2 separate regions of the Homo sapiens genome follow, and region 1 is linked to region 2. The links are contacts of gene promoters, found by promoter capture Hi-C in human tissues and cell types (Jung and others, 2019). All regions are on one chromosome and are shown on one strand. Each heading gives the region's core, a stretch centred on a gene start or on the middle of the fragment in contact. The rest is flanking DNA. Distances are from core to core; before and after follow the strand shown.

Region 1 (3,113 bases), core at 586-3,085, 100 kb before region 2:
GTTGTTTTAAACTTTATAAAAAGGGTATCATGCTTACACAATATTTAGGAACTTTTTTCACTTAATATATTGCCATATTGTTGATGTTGCTGCAGGTCATTTAGTTTGACTGCCATATTTCATTCCATTTATGAATATACCACAGTTTATGCATCCACTCGCCAATTGATGAGCACCTGGGCTGTCTACAGGCTTTTGTCATTGTGAGCAGCAGTGCTCTGAACACTTGTGTGCATCTCTCCTGAGCGTGTGTAAGCTTTTCAATGGGGTAGAACTGCTGGGTCAGAGAGTATAGGAATAATGAATAATGGATATGGAGAGGGGATAACGGGTTTGGATAATGCCAAACTCGAATCCAATGGGATGGCACCAATTTGTACTCCTACCAGTAGCGAATATGAAATCCTGTGGTTCTCTATCCTTTCCCATACGTGGCATTGTCAGCCTTTTTTACATTTGGGCCCCTCAAGTATCTATAAAATGGTATCTCATCTAATCTTGATTTGTATTTTCCTGGTCACTAATAATACTAAAAATTTCTTCATGCATCTGTTGCATACATGTGTTTATCTCTTCTGTGAAATGCCTACTGCTGTTTTGTGCCCATTTTTCTTTTGGCTTGTTTGTGCTACTCTTACTGATTTTTAGTCACTTTAACATATTTTGATTCTAATTATTTGTAGATTGTGTGTAGCTAGATATTGCAGATTATCTTATTGCAGTCTGCAATTTACCTTTCAGTATCTTTAAGTTTTCGTAATGAATAAAAGTTCTTACTATATACATTTATCAATCTTTTCTCTTATAGTCAACTGTTCTTTGTGTCTCCCTAAAGAAATATTTCCCGACTAGTATTGGTTTTCTTTTTATAAAAGAGTAATATAGCATTTGCTTTAAAACTACATTTGAGTAAAAATGAGACATTTTAAGGAAAAACTAAAATGCTCCAAATTATACAGATTATATAGCACAATTCATAATAGTGATGTGTAAATGATTGAAGTTTGGGAGACATTAACCATGTTCTCATAAATAGTATAAATTTATATTGAATGAATGAGTTCAGTTATTCATTCAGTAATTCAATTAACATATGTTGCAAATGATTCTCTCAGAGTTTCTATGTTTGAGACCCCAGCTGGATCCTCTAGAAATGTTTGCTAAAACTATTTGAAGAAACTCATCTAAGAGGGGTGTGTATGTGTGTGTGTGTGTGTGTGTCTGTGAACTGTGGGTATGTATAGAAGATACAAAAGTAGTAGAAGAGAAGCAAAGGCTATATGAGAGCTAGGTGAAACCTTAAGGATGCTTGTTTTATGGTACATATGTGAAAACCAAACCTAGACTTATCCAAGTTCAGGAACAGGTTGCACCAGAGTGGGATTAGAGTATTGCTTAGGCATTGACTCCCAGCACCTCCCCTGGTGAACTTCAGCCATAAGGATATGCTTCTCAGAGTGAGCAGTAAGTCTTTGCATTTATCAGCACTGAAGGCTTAGTTTGCATGTTTTTTTTTCCTTCTCTTTCCATATCAAAAAATATGCAATTCCTAGTCCTTTGCATTAAACTCCATACCTCACATATGACATTCAACAATACCAAAGTAGACTTTTCCATAATACGGCAGTGAGTGAAATTACCCAGCTCCTTAACTCATGAAGTAGGTTGCGGTGGAGGTTTCTGTATTTGAGCTGCTTTTGAACTAGAACCTACCGCTGTCCACGCTTCCTTAAGGTGTTAGGCACATCATAGGCATTCAGCCAGAACTTGCTGGAATGAACTAAAATACTCTGTGGAAACAGTCAAACTAATAAGAACATTCACCTTCCAAGTTGTTTAAACACATGGCTTATTTTTGAAAGACAAAAAAAATGTGTAAAAGAAACTAAAAAATAGGAATGATCTCAGTTGATCCTCATGGTGCTAGGGAAATGGTGTTTTTGGCAGGCTGTCATGTGATTAGATTGGGCCATTTTTCCCCTTTTTCTAAAATTATATTTTCGAGACATCTTGGTACTGGCATTTCTTTACTGACTCATTTGAAAGAGACATACATATATTGTAAACATTATGTCTAGAGCTAAAGAAAGGAAAGAAATAGAATTAAATGCTTCTCTATCTTAAAAGCTACCCATGACCTCAAGTCCACCCCAAATGGACCTACCTGTCTGTTTCTTTTTCTCTCTTTAGCTCTTACGCAGGACAAGGCGGGACACAGCAACATGGTCATTTTGATGTAAAATTGTAATGTAAAATGCTTTTTTCAATCTACTTTTTACCTAAAATATGAGAATAACCAAACTCTCTGAGGCTCATTTTGTGACTCACCCACCCTGTACCCATTGATCCTACCCTCTTCCTTTGAGGGCAAATGTAAGACCCAAGGCAGAGGCAACAGGAAGTTGGGTCTGAGGGATGGAGTGAGGATGTCTGTTTTTTTCCTCACTTTGATAATATTTTCAATATGAAAGTTTAACAATGTATTTTTTAATTTTAAAATTTATTACATTTTATGGCTGGATACAGTGGGTCATGCATGTAATCCTAGCACTTTGGGGGTGAGATTGGAGGGTCGCTTGAGCCAGGAGTTTGAGACCAACCTGGGCAACATGGTGAAACCTTGTCTCTGCAAAAAGATACAAAACATTAGCCAGGTGTGGTGGAGTACACCTGTAGGCCCAGCTACTCAGGAGGCTGAGGTGGGAGGATCACCTGAGCCCAGGGAGGTCAAGCCTGCAGTGAGCTGGAATTGCACCACTGCACTCCAGCCTGGGTGTCAAAGACCTGGTCTTCAAAAAAAAAATTATAACATTTAATAATGTAAAAGTCTATATACTCACATCCATGTAATATACAGAATATTGTTATATACACCCTGTGTACCCATCATCCAGCTTAAGTAATAAAACTTTTCCAGTCCTTCTGCAGCTGCCCATATCAATCCCCCTCTCCTCTTATTTATTTCTTCAAAAATGTTTATTTGAGTGACTATTATATATCAAGTAATGTTCTAGGAACTGGAAAACAGTAACATTAAAAATAAAACAGACAAGAAGCCCCGAACTCATGGAGCTCTTATGAAAGGAAACTACTATTCTGAATTTTGGGTTCAC
Region 2 (2,836 bases), core at 78-2,577:
CGCAACAGAACCTCAACCCCCGTTCTAGGATACTTGGGCAAATATATATTTATTAGTCATATATTTATATATTTTTAACGATATTGTCATGTCTTTCCTCTTGAAATTATCTTGAAATTCTATCTTCCTGAGGGCTGGTTAAAGAAAAGGCGCCACTGAACCACCCAAGATTGAACAATTCACACACACACACACACACACACACACACACACACACACGAAGGTGTAGCTTGAAGCGCCTGCTTTCAGTCTTTCCCAGTCTTTCCAAGCATCTCTCAGGCTGAAAGCAAGCGGAAGTGATTGAGAAATCCCTCCAGGGACTGGTGCCTCCCACAGGGATCTACAACTTTACACTCCATCCCCCCTTCCCCTCCCATCTCTAAACCCCCTGGTAGTGAGGGGCGCCAGAGTCCCCGCCCCTTCTTGCTGCCAAAATTTGTTCTTAACCTTTTTTGGGGCAGGGGACCTACAGAATGCTATGGACCCTCCATGAATGGTGACAGAGGTTGGTGGAAAGCACAGCTTAAATATTTTGCGAAATTTTCAAGAGACCACGTATTAGAAACACACTCCGACCTGCAGGATTAAGAACCCCATTTCTAAAACTCTTGACTTGGGGTGATTAAATCGAGAGCGGAGCTCAGGTGCCAAATCTCTTCCCGAATGAAAAAGTGTAGGAAGGGAAGGCGCTCCGGCGCTGGGCCACTTTCACTTGTAAGAAACCAAAAGATGGGGACTGGTGGCAAGAGATGGGGACGGAAGAGAAAGGAAAGGAAAAGGAGAAATGTGAGAAACAGACAGGGACACGGTGGGGCGGGGAGAAGACAGACATCACAGGGGAAAATGGGGAGAAGGGACAGAGTCCGAGAGGCACAGCAGCAGAGAGACAAGGGGGAGGAGGAAAAAGAGACTCGGAAGGGAGGAGAGAGAGGAGAGGAGAGGAAAAAGACGAGAGGGGAAGTGGCTGCACGCGCGCCAGGAAAGGGAGAGAACTTTCCCTGCTTTCCCTCCCCGGGGCAGGGAATCTCAGAAAACCCCACTTCAGCGAGGTGGCGGGGACCAGGAACAGCTGCCCCGGCGCTGGTGACGCCTCTGGCCTCCGCCTCTTGCAGCCGGCAGGGCCTCCGGCTGCGAGTCCCGCACGGGCCGGCCGAGGAGGGGACATGGTCTGGAAGGAGGCGGTCCCCGTTCGTCTCGCTTTCTCCTCCCCTCTCCTCCTCTTAGAGGCGTGCACCGGGGGCATTTGAGAGGCTGTGGACCCGCGGCCCCCCCGCCTCCGCCCCCCCAGCCCCCCATTCAAGAAGCCGCTCAGCTATCCCGGCCAGCACAGGGCGCCCGGCGCGCCTCGGAGCGCAAGTTCCTCGCCTTCTCCTGCCCGCTCGCTGGGCATTATGCGGCCAAGCAGCCGAGCCCCAGTCCTCCTCCTCCTCCTGCTCCTCCGGCTCCTCCTGCGGCCCGAGCGGCTCAGCTCTCGGCAGGCGGCGGCGTTGCTCAGCCGAGCGCAGACGGGACCCTCGCAGCGAGACCTCAGCGACTCCTAAAGTCAAAAGTTGGCGGCGGGCGCCGGGCTCCGCGCGCTCTCCACGGCCGCTGCCTCGCGTCGCCGCCGCAGCCAAGGAGGGCAGGAGGGAGGGGGGTGGGGGCAGCGGAGGGAGGGGTGGGAAGCACCATGCAGTTTGTATCCTGGGCCACACTGCTAACGCTCCTGGTGCGGGACCTGGCCGAGATGGGGAGCCCAGACGCCGCGGCGGCCGTGCGCAAGGACAGGCTGCACCCGAGGCAAGGTAACCAGGCTCCGGCCCCCGGGACCCCGCCGGCCCCGACGCCGCCTCCCGGTCCTCGCTCCTGGGCAGGGGCACCCCGCAGCGGAGGCTTCTCTCCTTTTCCTAGAAAGAATTATCTCCCGCTTTGCAGCCTCTCCCTTCTTTGGGTCATCCCCAACCAATTGCTAGGGAGGGACACTATGGAAACGAATTTAGGCAACCCCCCCCTACCTTGCTGTTGCCAGATATATCCCCATCCCCACTCCCACGCCGCAAACTAAAGTAACTTAGTAATTGGGGGCACCAGATAGCGTCATGTTTTATTTTATTCAGGTTATTTATCAATATCTGAAATCATATATATTTTGACTTGTTAATTGTCTGGCTCGGAATAGTGTATCCTCAGCACCTAGCACAGGTCCTGTTACTGGCACATAGTAGGTGCTCAGCAAATATTTGTCCACTGATTAAGGGTGAAGGGATTGACTCGAATGGGCTGGAAAATAAGGTCAGAACAAAGTCCCCACCTTCGTTTTAAATTAAAGCTTAAGGAAAAATGAATTATTGGTTCATATACCTCTGCTTCTCTCCGCAGTGAAATTATTAGAGACCCTGAGCGAATACGAAATCGTGTCTCCCATCCGAGTGAACGCTCTCGGAGAACCCTTTCCCACGAACGTCCACTTCAAAAGAACGCGACGGAGCATTAACTCTGCCACTGACCCCTGGCCTGCCTTCGCCTCCTCCTCTTCCTCCTCTACCTCCTCCCAGGCGCATTACCGCCTCTCTGCCTTCGGCCAGCAGTTTCTATTTAATCTCACCGCCAATGCCGGATTTATCGCTCCACTGTTCACTGTCACCCTCCTCGGGACGCCCGGGGTGAATCAGACCAAGTTTTATTCCGAAGAGGAAGCGGAACTCAAGCACTGTTTCTACAAAGGCTATGTCAATACCAACTCCGAGCACACGGCCGTCATCAGCCTCTGCTCAGGAATGGTAAGTGGGCGCGCGCCACCTCCTCTCCCCTTCCGCCTCCTCGCCCGCTTCTAGAAGACTTAATTGTCCTCTAAGCC

The links. Contacts are between HindIII fragments. The study calls those that stand out against the background at their distance.
Region 1: a contact is called between a fragment that was not itself captured here and the fragment with the promoter of ADAMTS9 in region 2, in 2 of the 25 tissues and cell types used here (aorta and small bowel).

Annotation. Positions count from the first base shown.
Region 1 is chr3:64,787,958-64,791,070 of GRCh38, reverse strand. All of the region lies in intron 1 of ADAMTS9-AS2 (ADAMTS9 antisense RNA 2), which reads right to left. Among named protein-coding and RNA genes, the nearest start is that of ADAMTS9, 100 kb to the right of the region's middle. The HindIII fragment of the contact is 3,432 bases long and covers 120-3,113 here.
Region 2 is chr3:64,686,491-64,689,326 of GRCh38, reverse strand. It overlaps ADAMTS9 (ADAM metallopeptidase with thrombospondin type 1 motif 9), which reads left to right and starts at 1,327. Exons shown (of 40, transcript NM_182920.2): 1 at 1,327-1,784; 2 at 2,359-2,759. The coding sequence starts at 1,670. The region is part of intron 1 of ADAMTS9-AS2 (ADAMTS9 antisense RNA 2); the gene reads right to left. The HindIII fragment of the contact is 6,670 bases long and covers 1-2,836 here.